Linked DNA regions of Homo sapiens: all the other regions are linked to region 6. Evidence: promoter capture Hi-C in human tissues and cell types (Jung and others, 2019). All regions are on one chromosome and are shown on one strand. Each heading gives the region's core, a stretch centred on a gene start or on the middle of the fragment in contact. The rest is flanking DNA. Distances are from core to core; before and after follow the strand shown.

Evidence for each region. The method cuts DNA at HindIII sites, captures the fragments that hold promoters and counts their contacts. A contact is called where the count stands out against the background at its distance.
Region 1: a contact is called between a fragment that was not itself captured here and the fragment with the promoter of FAM168A in region 6, in 1 of the 25 tissues and cell types used here (hippocampus).
Region 2: a contact is called between a fragment that was not itself captured here and the fragment with the promoter of FAM168A in region 6, in 1 of the 25 tissues and cell types used here (dorsolateral prefrontal cortex).
Region 3: a contact is called between a fragment that was not itself captured here and the fragment with the promoter of FAM168A in region 6, in 1 of the 25 tissues and cell types used here (liver).
Region 4: a contact is called between a fragment that was not itself captured here and the fragment with the promoter of FAM168A in region 6, in 1 of the 25 tissues and cell types used here (H1 embryonic stem cells).
Region 5: a contact is called between a fragment that was not itself captured here and the fragment with the promoter of FAM168A in region 6, in 2 of the 25 tissues and cell types used here (dorsolateral prefrontal cortex and mesenchymal stem cells).
Region 7: a contact is called between a fragment that was not itself captured here and the fragment with the promoter of FAM168A in region 6, in 1 of the 25 tissues and cell types used here (hippocampus).

What each region holds. Positions count from the first base shown.
Region 1 is chr11:73,915,265-73,918,242 of GRCh38, forward strand. PAAF1 (proteasomal ATPase associated factor 1) reads left to right here. Exons shown (of 12, transcript NM_025155.3): 9 at 1,281-1,396. Among named protein-coding and RNA genes, the nearest start is that of DNAJB13, 34 kb to the right of the region's middle. The HindIII fragment of the contact is 6,185 bases long and covers 1-2,978 here.
Region 2 is chr11:73,161,036-73,164,228 of GRCh38, forward strand. IUR1 (imatinib upregulated ABL suppressing lncRNA 1) reads right to left here. Exons shown (of 4, transcript XR_950294.3): 3 at 1,505-1,636. Among named protein-coding and RNA genes, the nearest start is that of IUR1, 20 kb to the right of the region's middle. The HindIII fragment of the contact is 3,502 bases long and covers 1-3,193 here.
Region 3 is chr11:73,883,765-73,886,927 of GRCh38, forward strand. All of the region lies in intron 2 of PAAF1 (proteasomal ATPase associated factor 1), which reads left to right. Among named protein-coding and RNA genes, the nearest start is that of PAAF1, 8.3 kb to the left of the region's middle. The HindIII fragment of the contact is 5,400 bases long and covers 1-3,163 here.
Region 4 is chr11:73,255,023-73,257,864 of GRCh38, forward strand. All of the region lies in intron 2 of LOC105369382 (a long non-coding RNA gene), which reads left to right. Among named protein-coding and RNA genes, the nearest start is that of P2RY6, 16 kb to the right of the region's middle. The HindIII fragment of the contact is 9,601 bases long and covers 1-2,842 here.
Region 5 is chr11:73,208,570-73,211,331 of GRCh38, forward strand. No RefSeq gene overlaps it. Among named protein-coding and RNA genes, the nearest start is that of P2RY2, 8.3 kb to the right of the region's middle. The HindIII fragment of the contact is 7,102 bases long and covers 1-2,762 here.
Region 6 is chr11:73,596,572-73,599,515 of GRCh38, forward strand. It overlaps FAM168A (family with sequence similarity 168 member A), which reads right to left and starts at 1,541. Exons shown (of 8, transcript NM_015159.3): 1 at 1,352-1,541. RefSeq lists an enhancer at 875-1,603 and silencers at 1,495-1,624, 1,755-1,984. The HindIII fragment of the contact is 9,297 bases long and covers 1-2,944 here.
Region 7 is chr11:73,941,308-73,944,279 of GRCh38, forward strand. No RefSeq gene overlaps it. Among named protein-coding and RNA genes, the nearest start is that of DNAJB13, 8.2 kb to the right of the region's middle. The HindIII fragment of the contact is 7,569 bases long and covers 1-2,972 here.

The sequences.
Region 1 (2,978 bases), core at 41-2,540, 320 kb after region 6:
TTATGAGTCCTGCTACCTCTAAGGTAATGTGAAAAAATTCTGAGTAAAGAACTCACGCCCACTGGGCATAGTGGCTCATGCCTGTAATCCCAGCTTTCTGGGAGGCCCAGAAAGGGTGGATTGCTTGAGTCCAGGAGTTCGAGACTGGCCTGGGCAAAAAAACCCATCTCTATTAAAAATACAAAAAATTGGCTGGGCATGGTGGCATGCACCTGTAATCCCAGCTACAGCTACTTGGGAGGCTGAGGTGGGAATATCACCTTAGCCTGGAAGGTCGAGGCTGCAGTGAGCCAAGATTGCGCCACTGTACTCCAGCCTGGGGAACAAGAGTGAGACCCTGTCTCAAAAAAGGGACTCATGCATTCAGGACTCTTGATCAATTAATGAACAGACCATTAGTTGAAGTTTCTTCCTACATCCTCTGAATTTTTGCTGGGCAGATTATGTTCTTAACTAAATTCTCTCTTCCCAGAGATTAGATTTTTAAAATTTCCTTCTAGCTCCTGTGATCGTCATCCAGACAACTTTAGTGATTTGATTTGGCCACAGGGTTTGCTGTTTTCATTTCATCTTGTTACTCCACTGTGCTGGTGATATTTCCATTTTCAAAGTTTGTTTCAGGAACATTACCATTTTTGCTAATATCGCCTTTGTACTTGAGTTTCCATGCTGGCTTTTACTTCCAGAGGGAAATCAGGTTTTTTTGTTTGTTTATTTTGTTTTTTGCCTTTTCTTTTTAGTATGTTTGGGGAAGACATGATCAGTTTGAGCTAACAGTAAGGAGAAAATAAAACTATAATAATTTTTTTTTTCAGATTCATGGGGAGAATTGTGATTCTTTACATTGCTACTTTATTTAAGCCTGTTCATTTTCCTACAAAATACCCTCCTTCAAAAGGTTGAAGTGACATGGAGCAAAACTTACATGTGGGAATTGCAAGTGTTTCTCAGAAAGTTGTCATGAAAAAGGGGCAAAGAAGGAATTTTGGTGGTGAGGATCCTGTGAGACAGTGTGTTGAGTGGTAGTAGTTGGAAAACTGCTACTTCAGAGTATATTATATAACCTGCTCAAGTCCTTAGTCAACCCCAGGTTCCTGAAATCCTGGGAGTACTTCCTTCTCAGTTTTTGGTGAATGTGTAATTTACCATTTGAGAATAATTAAAGGGGGAAGGAAGAAAATATCTCAAAATATAGTGAAATTTTTCCTTTTTTGGTGCCTGTTTATTCTTGGAAACAAATTAATCTTTAAACAGCATTTTTGCCTCCTACTTGTTCCCAGGTGTTCCTCTTTATTGGCTCAGACGCTTTCAACTGCTGTACTTTTCTCTCTGGCTTCTTGCTATTGGCTGGGACTCAAGATGGAAACATTTATCAGCTGGATGTGAGGAGTCCAAGGTGAGTCACCATTCATTTACATGATGCAGGTCTTCTGCAGAGTGGAAATTTTTATTGGCTTTAACATTGATTTAGCCTAGCATATAGATAACTATTGAATCAAGGGTATATTTTTCCATTTACAAAGGTTTTCCAGTCTGAATTTTCTGATTTTTCTTATTATTCCTGGACTCATATTAAAATATATGATTCATACCATTATGATTGTCTGACTAATGATTGCTTTGAAAATTAAGCTTAAATATAAACTAACATTTCATTTAAATTGATTGTCTAGAACTTTTAATTTTAAAGAGCTCAGTAATTTTCTCTTACATTAGACCCTGGCTACCCTAAGATTGAAAGATTGAATTATTTTTATTTATTTATTTATTTTTTGAGATGGAGTCTCCCTCTGTCGCCCAGGCTGGAGTGCAGTGGTGCTATCTCGGCTTACTGCAACCTTTGCCTCCCGGGTTCAAGCAATTCTCCTGCCTCAGCCTCCTGAGTAGCTGGGATTACAGGTGCGCGCTACCACACCCAGCTAATTTTTGTATATTTAGTAGAGACAGGGTTTCATCATGTTGGTCAGGCTGATCTCGAATTCCTGACCTCGTGATCTGCCCGCCTCAGCCTCCGAAAGTGCTGGGATTACAGGCATGAGCCACTGTACCCAGCCCTGAATGATCATTTTTAGTTCAAGGAACCCAGCTCTGTTAGTTATGTAGTTTTGATCATGACCTTTCTAAACAGGCTTTTCTTTGGCCTTAAAGATATCCAAAGAGAATCACACAATCTCTCTGTTGCAGGATTTAACAATTTCTACAATTTTGTCCCTTCCTCCTTTGATTTCCTTCCTTTTTTCAACTGATATTTATTGAAAATAGCTTCTGTGGGCATCAGGCTTGGTTCAAGGCACTGAAAACCAGAAATAAAAGGTACAGGCTCTGGGCTGGGCGTGGTGGCTCACGCCTGTAACCCCAGCACTTTGGAAGGTCAAGGTGGGTGGATCACCTGAGGTCAGGAGTTCAAGACCAGCCTGGCCAACATGGCGAAACCCTGTCTCTACTAAAAATACAAAAATTAGCTGGGCATGGTGGCACGTACCTATAATCCCAGGTACTGGGGGGCTGAGGCAGGAGGATCGCTTGAACCTGGGAAGTGGAGGTTGCAGTGAGCTGAGATCGTGCCACTGGACTCCAGCCTGGGCAACAGAGCGAGACTCTATCTCAAAAAAAAAAAAAAAAAGATACAGACTCTGCCTTTGAGGCACCTGGAGTCTAATGGTAAAGATGGACAAGTAAAAGACTGTTGTGCAGTGTGATCACTTGTCTGACAGGGCTAGCTACAGAAATCTAAGGAAGCACCAAAAAGGAGAGGGAAGGAGGTGAGACTGCTTCTCCAAGGAAATGAGAAACATTGGGTCTTGTTGAGTAGGACGTTGCCAAGTAAAGAAGGAGGAAAAGAGCTGGCCTCGGTAGAATCCCATGTATAGAATCCCATATATGAAGGCATGTGAAGGGGATTGTTTTCAGGAGTCTATGACAGGTATGTTCCCTGCATATGAGGGCAGTGGTGAGAAGTGATACCAGCAGGAAAACAG
Region 2 (3,193 bases), core at 327-2,826, 440 kb before region 6:
AAGCAATTCTTCTGCCTCAGCCTCCTGAGTAGCTGGAATTACAGGCACCCGCCATCATGCCCCTCTAATTTTTTTGTATTTTTGTAGAGATGGGTTTCACCATGTTGGTCAAGCTGGTCTTGAACTCCTGACTTCAGGTGATCTGCCCTCCTCAGCCTCCCAAAGTGGTGGGATTACAGGTGTAAGCCACTGCGCCCAGCCCATTTCCAAAGCTTTTCATCATCCCAAACAGAAACTCTGTAATTATTAAACATTAACTCCCCATTCCCCTTCCTCCTACCCCTGATAATCCTCTTATTCTGCTTTTGGTCTATGAATTTGCCTTTTCTAGGTACCTCATATAAGTGGGATCATACAATACTTGTTTTTTGTGTGTATCTGGCTTCTTTCATAATGTTTTCAGGATTCATCCATGTTGTACATGTGTCAGTACTGCATTCCTTTTTAAAAGTTGAATAATATTTCACCTTATGGGTATACATTTTGTTTAGCCATTCATCTGTTGATGGACAATTGGGTTATTTCCACTTTTTGGCTATTGAGAATAATCCTGCTGTGAACATTGGTATATAAGTATCTGCTTAAGTCTCTGCTTTCCATTTTGGGGGATATAGACCTAGAAGGGAAATTGCTGGATCAACTTGGTAGCTCAATGTTTCACTTCTAAAGGAACCAACAAACTGTTTTCCACAGTGGTTACACCATTTTACATTTCTATGAGCAGTGCACTAGGGTTCCAATTTTCCTACATCCTTGCAAACACTTGTAATTTTCCTTTTAACAAAAAGTTATATCCATCATAATGGGTGTGAAGTGGTATCTCATTGTGGTTGGCCTGGAGATTTTTTTTCAAAAAACATATTTGACCAGGTGCAGTGGTTCGTGCCTGTAATCCCAATGCTTTGGGAGTCCAAGGCAGAGGATTGCTTTAGCTCAGGAGTTCGAGACCAGCCTAAGCAGACTCCTGTCTATACAACAACAACAACAAAATAATTTAAGAAAAAATTAGCCAGGCACAGTGGTGCACATTTGTAGTTCCAGCTTCTTGGGAGGCTGAGGATCACTTGAGCCCAGAAGTTCAAAGCTGTAGTAAGCTATGATTACACCACTACACTCCAGCCTGGATGACAGAGCAAGACCCTGTCTCTAAATAAAAAACAAAGCAAAACAAAACAAAACAAAAACCGTATTTTAGCTGCAGGGTTCTTTAATCAGAGGAAAAGTTACCCAAAGACTGCATGAAGGCTTTGGTGAGGAGTTGATAGTGGTTAACTGGAGGCAAGAAGGGCAGGTAAGGTCGCATGGGGCTGATAACTATGCACGTGCGTGTGCGTGCATGCGTGTATGTGTATTGAGGGGGTGCTCGTGTGTAGAGGGCACTTTCTCTTGGTCTCCCTCTCCCTGACTTGCCCCACACAGAGGTCTTTTCTGAGGAACCCAGTGGCATAGTATAAAAGTCCCTGACTAATGGTCACTGAAGTCACTTCCTTTCTGGGATACTTACCGGGAGGAGGCCATGTGTAACAGGGGCAGGAAGCTTCTCTATTTCGTCGTTAGGGGAGGACTTAGCAAGTCACCTTGGAGGAGGCCCTCTCTGTTCTGTCCACCACTTGAGTTTATCAGATGTAAGTAGCACCTGGGAGACAAAACAGGACCTTTTGTGGCCCAACAAAGGCTGCCTCTCCTAACATCAAATGGGATGCAGAGCTGAAGAAAAAGGCAACATATTTGGGAGGAGTGAGACGTTGACAAAGGAGCCCCAGGGCACAAATGGAAGAAGGTCCAGTCACTTTCCTTGTGAGGTTCAAAGTTATCTGGCTGCTAAGATGACCATCCCCAGTGAGCCCCACTTGTTGGAAGGAAAGAACCCCTGAGCCCCCAGTGGTGTAGGAAGGAGCCTTGGACTGGTGGCCAGGCTTAACTCTGGGGCTGAGGACCTAGAAGCCCCTCTGGACCTTCCTCCTGGTGAAACTTGCTGGAGCTCAGGAGTGTGAATGAAAGCTTGGATTTGGGGGTCATGTGTTCACAGCTGCTGGGACTCTGAACAGTAAGATGGAGCAAGACTGGGACTCAAGAGTGCCTTTGTTGGAAAGGAGCTAGTGTAGTCCCTGTGGGTTTTGAGCACTCCTGTGACATGGGGGAAGGCCTCCAGAGGGCCAGATTGAACTTCCTGCTGATAAAATCTTGTGGAGCTCAAGCAATTAATGGGGAAAAAATTTGGCCATAGTTTTTACCTTAAGCTGGTGGAGGGACCACACAAGTTACATGCAGTTCTCAAGTTATTTGGTTCTCTAGTTCCAGAGGTGGGGCAGGATGAGGGGGACCAGGAAAGTATATTATTCCTTTTTGCACCCAAGCCAGCTCAAGACAACCCTGGGGAATGGGAGGGAAAGTCTCTGGGCCTCTTTCCTTACTTAGGTTTCCTTCGTGGGTCCCCTTCAAGAGCCGCTCCTCATCTTCAGGATTCCACCATGGCCCCTTGCCTATGTCTACAGCCCATGATAGTACTCAAGTACTCAGGCTATTTCCTGTTCACTGTCCCTACAAAGCTTATCCAGCCTGGGTCCAGGTTCCTCTGTTCCCCATTAGGAGCACTGAGCTCAGCTAATAGACCAAATTGACCGAAGGAGCTGGTGACAACAGTTGGTTAATCCAGCCACTAAGGGCTTCACATGCATCCCTTCCCTGACTCCATTCACATTTCACCAAGGATCACAGTTACTCCAAAGGCACAACAATCTGAGCAAAAGGTTGCTGGAATGTGCTGCTTCAACAGCCTTTCAGCTCTGTTGTGCAAAGAAGGTGTAATTCTACTGGTGGAATTTTAGGCACTTTGAAAGAATGTTTGGGATATAGTTTCTTGCAAATAGGCAACCTTTGCTCACCCACAGAGAAGACAGCATTTTCTGCCTACACATGAGGGAGCCTACGTGAGGCCCAGCTCCAGTTGTGACCTTCAGTTCCACTCCCTAGGCCAAGATGCTAAATTCAGATCACCCATTAGTTCAGAAGCAGGTTAGACCAGTCACCATAAGCATGTGCCTGGGCAACCAATCTTGTTTATGCAAAAGGAGTCTTTAGTCTGCAATGTTTTGCACACCCAGCACACAAATGAAAACAGTTCTTGACTACACTTGGAAGGAAAAGAAAGAAAAGCAGGATAAAGGGCAAGATAAGAGAAGATAGCAAGTGC
Region 3 (3,163 bases), core at 223-2,722, 290 kb after region 6:
CCCACCTCGGCCTCCCAAAGTGCTGGGATTACAGGCAACTTAGTATAATGTTTCTATTTGTTGTTTTTATCAGTACTTCGTTCCTTTTTGTGGCCCGGTAATACTCTGTTGTATGGATATACTACATTTTGTTTATCCATTCATCAATTAATGGACACATATTTCTAGTTTTTGGCTATTATGAAGGAAGGAGATTTTGATGGCAGGATAGATGGCATGAGAACCAGCTGCTGTGGGGAATGGGAGGGGTGAAAGGATTACAAAACTGCTGAGTTTAGAAACATGAATTGGATTGGTGACAGTCGGCACAGTTGTGTTCTTTTCTGGAGCAGTACTCAGCAGCCTGCATGTAGGAATGTAGAAGGTAAGTGGTTGGATTGATCCTAGTTCTGCTATTATATAGAGAAAACCAAGGCTGAGGTCATTTTAGTGACTTCACAAATGTAGAGAAGTCAGCTGGGCAGGGTAACTCACCCTGTAATCCAAGCACTTTGGGAGGCTGAGGCAGAAGGATTGCTTGAGCCCAGCAGTTCGAGACCAGTCTGAGCAACATAGTGAGACTCTGTCTCTACTAAAAATAAAAATAAAAAAAATAGCTGGGCATGGTGGCATGCAGGCTACTCAGGAAGCTGAGGCGGGAGAATCCCTTGATTCTGGGAGATAGAGGCTGCAGTGAACCATGATCATACCACTGCACTCCAGCCTGGGTGACAGAGCGAGACCCTGTCTCAAATATTAAAAAAATACATATATATACATCCACAAATGTGGAGAAGTCATTGAGTGATTGGTTGAAATGATGCACCATGAGGGCCAGACTTCTTAAGGCAGTTGGTAAACACAATAGGGAATCATGGAGTGGGATAAAAAGTGAAGTTGCTTCAGTTCTGTTTTTGTGGCATCTTTCTGAAATAGTGCTTCATGATACTTCCCTGTGAAAAGCGTCTTTACTAGGTCTTCTCTAGGCCAAACTTCTACCCTAGACTTTGAGTTTCTCTGGGATTTATCCCTCAACTATCATTTCCATGACTGCTATTACCAAACTGGTGTATTAATTGATGAATCCTTCCTTCTTGTTCTTTTTGACTTTCTTTTATTCTTTTTTTTTTTTTTGAGACGGAGTCTCGCTCTGTCGCCCAGGCTGGAGTGCAGTGGCGGGATCTCGGCTCACTGCAAGTTCCGCCTCCCGGGTTCACGCCATTCTCCTGCCTCAGCCTCCCAAGTAGCTGGGACTACAGGCGCCCGCCACTACGCCCGGCTAATTTTTTGTATTTTTAGTAGAGACGGGGTTTCACCGTTTTAGCCGGGATGGTCTCGATCTCCTGACCTCGTGATCCACCCGCCTCGGCCTCCCAAAGTGCTGGGATTACAGGCGTGATATTCTTTTTTTTTGAGATGGAGTCTCACTCTGTCACCCAGGCTGGAGTGCAATGGCGTGGTCTCGGCTCACTGCAACCTCTGCTTGCCAGGTTCAAGGTATTCTCCTGCTTCAGCCTCCTGAGTATCATAGCTGGGACTACAGGCACGTGCCACCACACCTGGCTAATTTTTGTATTTTTAGTAGAGAAGAGGTTTCACTATGTTGGCCAGGCTGGTCTTGAACTCCTGACCTTGTGATCCACCCACCTTGGGCTCCCAAAGTGCTGAGATTACAGGTGTGAGCCACCATGCCCGGCTGACTTTCTTTTATTCTTGATATGCTCCTCCTTGACTTGGAGTTTTCTTTTCCCTATTTTCTTCCTAGCCAGCTCCTATCTTTCTTTGAGGCTCCTATACTCTCTAGAAAGCCCTCCCGGCCTGGTCGTGGTGGCTCACACCTGTAATCCCAGCACTTCGGGAGGTTGAGGTGGGTGGATCACCTGAGGGGAGGAGCTCAAGACCAGCCTGGCCAATATGGTGAAACCCCGTCTCTACTAAAAATACAAAAATTAGCCAGGTGTGGTGGCACGTGCCTTTAATCCCAGGTACTTGGGAGGCTGAGTCATGAGAACTGCTTGAACCCAGGAGGTGGAGGTTGCAGTGAGCTGAGATCACGCCATTGTACTCCAGCCTGGGCGACAAGAGTGAAACTCCATCTCAAAAAAAAAAAAAAAAAAATCCCTCCCACTCTTGTGTGAATCCATGATGATTTCTGCTTCTCTCCTGTAACTTCAGTTTGGCTCAACATTTATTTACTGAATAATAAATGAATGTAGCACCCTGCTAGACTTAAGGACTTCACAGTCTGTTGGGCAAGTCAGACATGTAAACAGTGTGTTATGGGCTGTTATAGACATGAATATATAAGGTGTAGAAGAAGAATGGAAACAGTTTTTAACTTCATTCTATCATCTGCGTGTGTTTATGTGTAGGATAGTATCTTACTTAGCCCATATCTCTGCAAAATCAGTATTCTACTTAGGCAAATTTTACAGGTTACTGAAGCTTAATTCTTTACTATGTATTATGTGTATATACTGTAGATAAATACATGTATGCATACTGATCTTCACCTTTCATCCTGGAAGAATTACATTTCACAGCCAGTTACATCAGGTTGAGATCACTCTAAAAGCCCTCTCTACAAATGCTGTATCAAATCTCTAAATCTTTGTTCTTAGCTTTTAGTCTTGAAAATGTATTTTAGTCAGGCCAGGCGCGGTGGCTCACGCCTGTAATCCCAGCACTGTGGGAGGCTGAGGCGAGTGGATCACGAGGTCAGGAGATCGAGTCCATTCTGGCTAACATGGTGAAACCCCATCTCTACTAAAAATACAAAAAATTAGCCGACATGGTGGCGGGTGCCTGTAGTCCCAGCTGTTCGGAGGCTGAAGCAGGAGAATGGTGTGAACCCAGGAGGTGGAGATTCCAGTGAGCTGAGATCACGCCACTGCACTCCAGCCTGGGCGACAGAGCAAGACTCCATCTCAAAAAAAAAAAAAAAAAAAAAAAAAAGAAAATGTATTTTAGTCTTGAAAGTGTATTCCCTTTCAAATTAGAGTTTAGTGCTATAGTGTGTATGTTTGACCCCTCCAAATCTCATGTTGAAATTTAATCCTCAGTGTTGGAGGTAGGGCCTAATGGGGGGTGTTTGGGTCATGGGGGCAGACCCCTCATGAATAGATTAATGTCCTCCCTGGAGAGTGAGAGTGACTGAGTTCTCACTCTGTTCTTTCCTGAGAAA
Region 4 (2,842 bases), core at 147-2,646, 340 kb before region 6:
CAAGTGATCCTCCCACCTCAGCTTCCTGAGTAGCTGGGACTACAGGCATGTGCCACCATGCCCAGCTAATTTTTGTATTTTTTTTTTTTTGTAGAGATGGGTTTTTGCCATGTTGCCCAGGCTGAAGAAAGTTAATGTCTAAATTTATGCACAACTACTTAGAAAACAGTAAATCCCTATATCAATCTTTGTTGATAAAAACATTCCATTTTTCTCATCATTGGAACCTTGTCACGCCTCAACATTTGGGGCACCTTTACTAAATGTGACATCTTGATTTTTAAAAGTGATCTGTTTCTTTTTCATTTAATTTTCAACTAAATAATGTATTCACTTGGTTCAAACAAACAAACAAAAAAAGGTAAACAGTGAAGGATCTCCCTGTTATTGGCCCTAATAAGTAACCCAGTCAGTGGTTGCTTCTTTATGTTTCCAGGTAACTATATGTATATACAAATCCTAAAAGTAGTGTTTTTTTTCTTCCTTCATACACAAAAGTTTGCATACTACTACATACATATTTCTACACCTAGCTTTCTTCTGAAAATTCCTTTTTAAATTTATTTTTATTTTATTCTTTTTTTTTTTTTTTTTTTTTTTGAGATGGAGTCTCCCTCTGTCCCCCAGTCCGGAGTGCAGTGGCACTATCTCTCCCGGGTTCAAGCAATTTTTCTGCCTCAGCCTCCCCTGTAGCTGGGACTACAGGCGCGTGCCACCACACCCAGCTAATTTTTGTTTGTTTGTTTTTTGGTGTTTTTGTTGTTGTTTTTGTTTTGATTCAGAGTCTCGCTCTTGTCGCCCAGGCTGGAGTGCAGCGGTGCGATCTAGGCTCACCACAACCTCCACTTTCCGAGTTCAAGTGATTCTCCTGCCTCAGCCTCCTGAGTAGCTGGGACTACAGGCATGTGTCACCATGCCCAACTAATTTTTGTATAATTTTTAGTGGAGACAAGGTTTCACCATGTTGGCCAGGCTGGTCTTGAACTCCTGACCTTGTGATCCCCCTGCCTTGGCCTCCAAAGTGCTGGGATTACAGGTGTCAGCCATCACGCCTGGCTATTTTATTCTATTTTTTTAGAGACAGGGTCTCACTATGTTGCCCAGGCTGCTCTTGAACTCCCAGGCTCAAGCGATCCCCCTGCCTTGGCCTCTAAGTGCTGGAATTACAGGCATGAGCCACCATGCCTGGCCCTGAAGTTTTCTTAAAGGTCTTTCTACATAAAAACTCCCCTGTTCTGTTTTAACAACCATGATTTATTTAACCAGTTCCCTATGAATAGACAGGTCATTTCCAATATTTCAGTTTTGATTTGTTGATTTCTTAAAGAGCTGAAATAAATGAAAACACCAACTTTTTCTTCATTATGAACATAGTTTAGACTATTTACTAGACAATAATGTCTGCTTGAATCTCAGATTCAGTAAATCTGTTTTAAAATGGACAGGGATCTGTTGGTACCAAGTGAAAGAATTGCCCCACTCCCAAGGGTTGACTCACATTAACTTGGCTTTTTTAAATTTTATTTTATTTTATTCTATTTTGAAATGGAGTTTCGCTCTTGCTGCCCAGACTAGAGTGCAATGGCGCAGTCTCAGCTCACTGCAGCCTCCACCTTCTGGTTTCAAGCGATTCTCCAGCCTCAGCCTCCCCAGTAGCTGGGATTACAGGCACCAGCCACCACGCCTGGCTAATTTTTTGTGTGTGTTTTCAGTAGAGACGGGGTTTTGCCATGTTGGCCAAGCTGTTCTTGAACTCCTGGCCTCAGGTGATCCGCCTGCCTCGGCCTCCCAAAGTGCTGGGATTACAGGCGTGAGCCACCGCGCCCGGCCTAACTTGGCTTTTTGTTCCATGTGTTGGTTTCATCACCCTCTCAGTGTCCCTACAGTCCCAAGGGCAGCAGGCAGTGTTGCAGAGGTCACAGGGCTCCACAGGTAGTGTGAGCAGCAGATCTCTGTGGACTATCACCTCCTCTGACATAGGCACTATGCTCCTTTATATACTGCCAGAAAGTATGTTAACATTTATAGCCAGGCATGATGGCTCACGCCTGTAATCCCAGCACCTTGGGAAGCCGAAGCAGGTGGATCACAAGGTCAGGAGTTCAAGACCAGCCTGGCCAACATGGTGAAACCCTGTCTCTACTAAAAATACAAAAAATTAGCCGGGTGTGGTGGAACACTCCTGTAATCCCAGCTACTCAGGAGGCTGAGGCAGGAGAATTGCTTGAACCCAGGAGAAGGAGGTTGCAGTGAGCCAAGATCATGCCATTGCACTCCAGCCTGGGCAACAGAGAAAGACTCCGTTTTGAAAATAAATAAGTAAACAAACAAACATTTGTACCAGGAGCAGCGCTGGTGGGCATGGGTCTGGTAGGAGGGAGCTAAATGGAGTGTCCCATCAGTGTGCTTAGAGGCAAGAGAGGAATCCAGAGCCCTGACTAAGAGCTGCCAGGGCAGGATTCCTGGCTCATGAATTTGTGAATCAACACTTGGTTGGGCAGCTGGAATGTGGTGGGAATGAGAAAGAGGCAAGTTCCAGGAAGAGGTTCTCCTGTTCAGAACAAGGGCTAGCTGTGGCTGGTGGACTGACAGGGCAAAGGGGAGCCATGTGGGGGCTCCTGGACCTCAGGAAGGAGGCTGGGGTCTTAGGACTATGGCTGGGGCTAAAAGAGCAGCCCCGGCCCTGAGAGGAGGCCACAGGGACACCAAGGCCAGGGGCTGACAGGGGGAGGGGATATCTCAAAAGTTGTTGGAAATGCCAGATATGGCTCATCCAGTGCCGGATCTTGCTGGGCACCTGCCAGCTGCTAAGGATTGTGAGGCCATGGCTGAAGCTGGGAGG
Region 5 (2,762 bases), core at 54-2,553, 390 kb before region 6:
AAAACAAAATTAGCTAGGTGTGGTGGTGCACGCCTGTAGTCCCAGGTACTTATGAGGCTGAGGAGAGAGGATTGCTTGAGCCTGGGAGGTCAAGGCTGCAGTGAGCTGAGAAAATGCCACTGCACTCCAGCCTGGGGGACAAAATGAGACCCTGAATAAAAAAAAAATAAAAATAAAAATAAAAGATTGATAAATTAAATCACAGAAAAATTAAAACTTCTATGTTAAAAAAAAGTTACAAACCTAAGTGCTATGATTTGAACATGTCCTCCAAATTTCATGTGTTAGTGACTTAATCCCTAAATTCATTGTTGATTGGAAGTGGGGCCTTCAGGAGGCACTTAGGATTAGACAAAGTCATCAAGGTGGGGCCCACATGATGGGACTGGTAGCTTTATAAGGAGAGGAAGAGAAACCTAAGCTAGCATGCTTGCTCCGTATTGCCATGCGATACCTCTCACCATGTCATGCTACAGCAGGAAGGCCCTCACTAGATGCCTGAACCATGCTCTTGAACTTCCCAGCCTCCAGAATCATGAGCTAAATAAATCTCTATTCTTTATTAATTACCCTGTCTATGGTATTCAGTCATAGCAACAGAAAATGGACTAAGACACTAAGTAAAACCTAAAGACAAATGACAAACTAGGAAAAAATATTTTCAATTCAGGTCACAGACAGAGGGATGAATAATCTTCCTAAAATACAATAAGCTAATGCAAATCAGTAAGACCAACAACTTAATAGAAAAATGGCTAAAGGATATACAGTCATGCACCGCATAGTGATGTTTTGATCAATGATGAACTGCATATACAACAGTGGTCCCATAGGATTATAATACTGTGTTTTTACTGTACCTTTTCTATGTGTAGATATGTCTAGATATACGAATACTTACCATTGTATTACAATTGCCTCTAGTATTCAGTACAGGTACAAGTTTGTGGCCTAGGAGCAATAGGCTATACCATATAGCCTAGGTGTGTAGTAGGCTATACCATCTGGGTTTGTGTTCACGTTCACACAATGATGAAATCGCAAAGTGACACGTTTCTTAGAAAGCATCCCAGTCTTTAAGCAACTCATGACTGTAATGGAAAAGGAAATGGAAATGGATCATAAATTATACTTTTGTTATGAAGATATGCACTCAAAACAAAAAAAAAAACCTGACAAATTAAAACTACACTGAGACATGACTTTTCACCTATCAGACTGGCAAAAATCCAAAAGTTTGATATCACAGTGTTGATGAGGCTATGGAGATACAGGCACTCCCATACACTGCTGGTGGAAGGGTAAATGAATACAATCTCGGTGGCTGACAATTTGACAACAGTTATCACATCTTCAAATGCACAATCCTTTTGATCGAGTAATAAGTTTCTGTGAAATTTTCCTACATATATTTACACCCAAGCAAAAAAATATGTACAAGGCTATTCATTGCAGCATTGTTTGTACTAGCAAAAAATTGGCAACAACCCAAATGTCCACCAACAGAGGACTGGTTAAATACATTATGGTATGACTATACAATGGGATACTATGCGGCCCTTATAAAGAATGAAGAAGCTTCCAATGTACTGACTTGGAAAGATCTCCAAGATACACTGTTAAGTGATAACATGCAAGGGTCAGTGTGTATCTTTATGATACTCTTTTGTGTTTTTTCAAAAAGGAAAATGAGGGAAGCTGAGGCAGATGGATCACTTGAGGTCAGGAGTTTGAAACCAGCCTGGCCAACATGGTGAAACCCTGTCTCTACTGAAAAAAATATATACAAAAAATTAGCCAGGCATGGTGGTGCAAGCCTGTAGTCCCAGCTACTTGAGAGGCTGAGGCACAAGAATCGCTTGAACCTGGAGGGTGGAGGCTGCAGGGAGCCAAGATCACGCCACTGCACTCCAGCCTGGGTGAGAGAGCGAGACTCCATGTTAAAAAAAATTAAAAATAAATAAAAATTAAAAAGGAAAATAAGTGGAAATGTTTGTATTCACACAAAGGAACTCAAGGATACGCAATAAACTAACAAAAACACTTTCCAGGTTAAGAGTGAAGGGAGCAGTGGAAATCAGGCAACTGAATGATGGGGGATGGAGGGAGACATTTCTCTGAATATCTTTTTTTCCTATACTATAACATTTTTGAACCATATATTACTCATTCCAAATTTTAAATAGAAAAGTTAAATGACACAACAAGTTTACATTTGGAAGCACAGACAAAGCTATGCTGGCTAAATGCAAATGAAATAAAGCAGGGGATGGTAGTAGTGATGTAAGAAATATTTTAAAATATGGCTAAAAGCATTAGATGGGACAAAAAGGGGACACTTTTATCTATAAAAATATGTAAGCCATAGTGAGGATGTACTTTTATATATTGAATAACAGAGGATCAAAATAGATGAAATAGCAATAGAAGGAGAGGTTGATATAAACAAAAAAGTAGTGGGAGACACATCATTTTCAGCCTGCTGGGTTATATAAGTGAAAAAGAAATACTGAGGCTGGACGCAGTGACTCATGCCTATAATCCCAGCACTTTAGGAGGCTGAGGCAAGCAGATTGCTTAAGCCTAGGAGTTCAAGACCAGCCTGGGCAATATGGTGAAACCCCATCTCTACTAAAAATATAAAAAATCAGCTGAGTGTGGTGGCACCAGCCTGTAGTCCCAGCTGGGAGGCTGAGCTGGGAGGATCACCTGAGCCTGGGAAGCCGAGGTTGCAATGAGCTGGGCTGGGCAACAGAGCAAGA
Region 6 (2,944 bases), core at 291-2,790:
GTCTCTTCCGTGTCCCCTGCAAAGTCCCCTCTAACAGCCTTACTGCCTCTCACCCAACCACAGCCACCAAGGCTGTTCATTTAAGTATTCCAACCCTTAACCCTCATGTGTCTCTTGGAGGCCACCCCAATCCTTCACCACCAAAATAATCCAACCCAATTCCCCCCTGCTCTCCAGCACAGCTCACTGTCCCTCTCCATCCTCTCTGCCCCATCCATACCAACAGCTCCAGGTCTCCCATTCCTTAAATTTCCCCTGTGCCACCTCACCATCAGCAACCACCTCCCCAGGCCTACCAGCTCATCTCCGAAAGTCCTTCTCCAAAACTCCCTCTGCCACCTTGGCCAAGGGATATTTTCTTCAAGATACCATCCCCCAACTTTGCTCACCCCTGCCGCTATCCTTTCAATGAAAGCAGCCCAGTGATGTTTTATGTGCCCTCTGCCTTGACTCTGCAACCAAGGAGCCACCATGCCCTTTCCAGTGATTGTAAGATCACCCTAAATCCAACCCACTGTGCCCCACACTCCATTTCCATCCCTGTCCTCCCATTTCGGGCCTGACTTCCAATGTGGCCCCTTCCTGCCAGCTCACCATCACACTCCCCTCACTGAATGTCCCACCTCCACCAACTCCTATTCCAACCTCCATCAGCCCACCCCAGGAAACCCCCAAATTGCACTCTTCTGCTCTATCCTAACCCATGCTATTCCATAAGTCTCCACAAATTCCACCAGCCCCAGATGACAAACACCCACTTCAAGCTTGGGTCTCAACCCATGCCAAGCCCCTCACCCCCAACTCCTGCCACCTCCATCATCCTGCCCCAGGTCCACCCCAAATTCCACCCTTCTGAATTAACACTACGCAGGGCCCTAACCAACCCTGTACATGCCACTCACTCTCCGTTGAAATCATTCCCCTGCCCCTCACCCCAGCTCAGATCCCAAGCTGTCAACTGCTCCAGGCCAAACCCAAATCACCACCCTCATTCAGTCCCCTCCCCCATTAAAAGCCATCCCACCCTAGTCTCATCTTCCACCTCGCCCCAAGACCATCCCGAATTCCAACCCGACGCCCCCACCCCACTCTCCTGTCCCAGGTTGGGTTATTCTCCATCAAAAGTCCTCCTCCCTTGTCGCCCGCCCCCCAACCTGCTTGGGTCCCACCCTCACCCCACCCCCGGCCAGCGCCTGGACAAGTCTCCCCCGCCAGCCCGCCGTTCCATCGCGACCTCAACCCCCTCCCCCCAACCTGCACGGGGGCTCCGCAGCCTCCCCTCTCATTCTCGCCAGCGCCACCGGCCCAGACTCAGGACCAGCGGACCCTGTGGCGGGGGGAGTCTCCTCACCGGTGAGCAGCTGCAGGCGAAAACGGCGGCGGCGGCGGCTGAGGCGGCGATGCCCTTGTCTTCTCCGGAGGCTACGGCGGCGACGCTCTCGCCCGTGTCCAGTAGGGTGGCGGATGGCGCGCGGGGACCGGAGCCTCCTCCTCAGCGACTCGGCTCTGAATCCTCTGCAGTAGCCGCCGAGGAGCCCGACGGGTGGGGGGAGGGGACGCTCGGCTGCGGGCGAGGGAGGAGGAGGCGGAGGGAGGAGGCGGGGGACCGCTCAGAAGGGCAGGGAAGGAGGAGCCGGCGCGGCGCCGCGACACGTCCCACAGCCTCAGAGCGCCGGGACCACAACTCCCGGCATGCCCTGCTTTAGCCCGCGCGCGGCCTGCGCCTCCCGCCGCGAGCCCGGTGCAGAGGGGCCGCGCCCTCTCCGGTCACGGACAGTGGAATAAAGCCAACCATCCGCTGGCGAATTTTGTAGACTCAAAGACCACCTGTGAGGAAAGTCAGGTCGCCCGAGGCCCCATCCCCAAGGGGCCGTACTCGCAGCGTCTCCATCCTCTTTGCATAGACACCCCCCTCCCCCCGCCCACACACACACACACACTCTCTGTCTCTCCCTCTCTCCCTCTCTCCCTCTCTCCCTCTCCCTCTCGTCTCTGTCTCTGGACTACACCTCCCAGCATGCCCCTCAGCTTCCTATTCTCCTTCCGGACCCTTCTCAGACCCGGTACTACAGTTCCCAGGGAGTGTGGTCCCTGCGAAATGCTGGGAGATGGAGTTCTCGGTTCTTCCTCCATGTTAAGAAAAAGAAGTGAAAGAGAGGCAAAAGGGAAGGAATACGCCAGCCCACCGAGGATGGGCCTTGATGGGCTAGATCACCTGTGATTCTGTTCATCCCTCGCCATCTCCGTTTCAGCTGTCTCTCACCAGAACTAATGCCGGAGCTTCCTCGCTGGTCTCCCTGCAAATTTGAGGACGATTCGGCAACTTGAATCCAAACGACAAAGGGCATATCCTCTTCTTGACCCAGCTCCATTACTTTTAAGAATTTACCTTAAAAAGATGATCGAACAATTTCGAAAAGATGAATGCACAAAGTTGTTATATGACGTAGTTAATTATGAAGGGAGTAAATGTTCATCGATAGGGTGCTGCTTAAATAAGACGTGACATATACATACAATGCAATACTAAGGAGCCATTTAAAATGATATAAATCTATTGACATGAAAAGCTATTCACAATTTATTCTTCGGGGAAAAAGTTGATTACACAACAGCATGTCTACACGAGTGCATTTATGTGAGGTTTGACACAATATTCTACAAGCATGGAGAGATTTCAGGAAAGAGGTTCGCCAAAATATTAGCAATGATTATCTTGGGGGAAAGGGTGTCAGATTGCACGTAGGTTTTTTTTGTTTTTTGAGACGGAGTCTGGATCTATAGCCAGGCTGGAGTAAAGTGGGGGCGATCGCAGGTCACTGCAACCTCTGCCTCCCGGGTTCAAGCGATTCTCCTGCCTCAGCCTCCTGAGTAGCTGGGACTACAGGCGCGCGCCACCACATCCAGCTAATTTTTGTATTTTTAGTAGAGATGGGGTTTCACT
Region 7 (2,972 bases), core at 349-2,848, 340 kb after region 6:
AAGTTACTAGTTGTTTTTGGTTTGTTCTGTGCTCTCAAGCTGTCCTCTGCCATCTGCGCCAGCTTCTTGATTTGTCCCCATGTTGGAGGATCCGCCTGACGAGTATTCTCGGTCTTCTCTTTTGTCTCTGAGATGTTCATTCACGCCATCACTCGTATTGGGAGCTCTGGCTCTTCCCAGAGTCCTCTCTTCCTGGTGTGGCTCATGATAGATCTTCAGATGTTTGATGGGCACCCACACAGGTACCTGATTTTCACCTGGAGAGACACAAGCAAATCCTCTTCCCCACGTAATTATCTTTCCTTTTTCCCAGTTTTTTGTGTGAGTATCTCTCCATCATATATCTTGTCTGGCCTTTTTGTTTTCCTTTTGTCCTGTCAAGTGTTGTTCAGCTGCAGTCATGGATTGATCTTTTTGTAAATTTAGAAAATGTAATATTAATAAAGCTAAGTGTAATTGCATATGCGGTGTTTTATATTCCTGGTCTCCCCCTTTTTGTTTTTGTATTTGAGTTTTTAAAGCATGATTAGCTCTTTCAACTATTGCTTGTCCTTGTGAGTTATATGGAATACCTGTAGTATGGGTAATATTCCACTGTTGAAAAAAATGTAGCCATAGCTTTACTACAGTACCCTGGGCCGTTATCAGTTTTGATTTTTTCTGGGATTCCCATAACTGCAAAGCAAGGTAAAAGATGTCTTTTAACATGAGCTGTAGCTTCTCCTGTTTGACATGTGGCCCAAATAAAATGTGAGTAAGTATCTACTGAAACATGAACAAAGGACAACTTTCCAAAGGCAGGAACATGTGTTACATCCCTCTGCCAGATGGAATTTGGAGATAAACCTCTAGGGTTAACTCCTGTTCCTTGATGTGGCAGGTGTAAGACTTGGCAGGCAGAGCAATGTTGTACAATTTCCTTAGCCTGTTTCCAAGATAAGCCATATCTGTTTCCAAGGCCTGCAGCATTAGGATGGGTTAAAGAATGGAATGTTTGTGTATCAGTAAAAGCTGCAGAAACCAGTGCATCTGCCCTTTGATTGAGTTTGGTTAAAGGGACGGGGAGGTTAGTATGTGCTCTTATATGAGTGATATACAAAGGGGAATGCCTTTGTTGTACTGCTTGTTGTAAAGAATGAAATAAAAGATTGAGTTGATCATCAGTTACATTTTCAATTAAGGCACATTCAATATTTTGCACAGCTTGCATCACATAGGCCGAATCAGAAATAATGTTTACTGGCTGTTTAAAGGTTTTTAGTACTGTAATTACAGCCATAAGTTCAGCCCTTTGAGCAGAAGCAAAGTCAGTTTGAACAACTTGTTGTTGAGGTCCTACAAATGAGGCCTTTCCATTACTAGATCCATCAGTAAAAACAGTATTGGCCCCTTCAATAGGGGTCTTTTGAGTAGTGGAGGGTAATATCCATGATGTCAATTTTAGAAATTGGAATATTTTGGATTTAGGATAATGATTATCAAGTATACCAATAAAACCAGCTAAATTAACTTGCCATTTCTGGGAGTTAACATAAGCTTGCTGAATTTGTTGTTTATTTAAAGGAACTATAATTTGATTTGGATCATATCCCATTAATTTTGTTGTATACAGCCTTGCTTGACCTATCAGTACAGCAATTTGATCTAAGTACAGAGTAAGTGTTCTAGTTGTATTGTGAGGTAGAAAAAGCCACTCAGCTAGATCATCCTGTTGAACAGTAACACCTGTAGTTGAATGTTTAGTAGGAAAAATGAAAAACTGTAATGGCTGTAGTAGATCAATTCAAGTCACTTGTGCCTGATGAATTTTTTCTTCAATTAATTGAAGTTCTTACAATGCTTCTTTGGATAGAGAGCATTTGCTGTTAAGATCAGAATCACCTCATAAGTTAGAAAAGAGGTGAGACATAGCATAAGTAGGAATGCCTAAAGTGGGAATAATTTTTGAAAATCATTTAGAGGTTTTTTTTTTTTTTTTTTTTTTTTTTGAGACAGAGTCTCGCTCTGTCACCCAGGCTGGAGTGCGGTGGTGCAATCTCGGCTCACTGCAAGCTCCGCCTCCTGGGTTCATGCCATTCTCCTGCCTCAGCCTCCCTAGTAGCTGGGACTACAGGTGCCTGCCACCACGCCTGGCTAATTTTTTGTATTTTTAGTAGAGACAGGGTTTCACCGTGTTAGCCAGGATGGTCTCCATCTCCTGACCTTGTGATCCACCCACCTCAGCCTCCCAAAGTGCTGGGATTACAGGCGTGAGCCACCACGCCCGGCCTCATTTAGAGTTTTTAAATTATCTCTTTGAATTTGAACCTTTTGAGGCTTAATAGTACTTTGTTTTACTTTCCTTCCTAAATATTGAAATAGAGTGGAAGTTTGGATTTTATCGGGGGCTGTGATTAATCCTGCAGCAGTTACAGCCTTTTCTGTTTGTAGCATAGTATTCATTCCTCCCTAGTTTCAGCTGCACATAAGATATTATCCATGTAACGGATGATATAACATTTTTTAAACTGTTTTCTAACTGGCATAAAAACTTTAACAACATAAGTTGGACAAATAGTTGGGCTATTTAACATGCCTTGTGGAAATACGTTCCAATAGTATCTATCTGCTGATTCTTTGTTATTTATGACGGGAACAGTAAAAGCAAATTTTTCATAATCTTGGGTCGCTAAAGGAATGGTAAAAAAGCAACCTTTTAAATCTATCACTATGAGAGGCCAGTATTTAGGAATCGTAGTTGGGGAGGGCAGCCCTGGTTGCAGCGCGCCCATGAGTTGAATTACAGCATTAACGGCCCTCAAGTCTGTTAACATTTTCCATTTCCCTGATTTTTTCTTAATGACAAACATAGGAGAATTCCAAGAAGAGAAAGTAGGCTCTATGTGTCCCTTTTGCAATTGTTCTTGCACCAATTCTTTTAAAGCCTCCAGTTTTTCCCGTTTCAGTGGCCATTGCTCCACCCAAACCAGTTT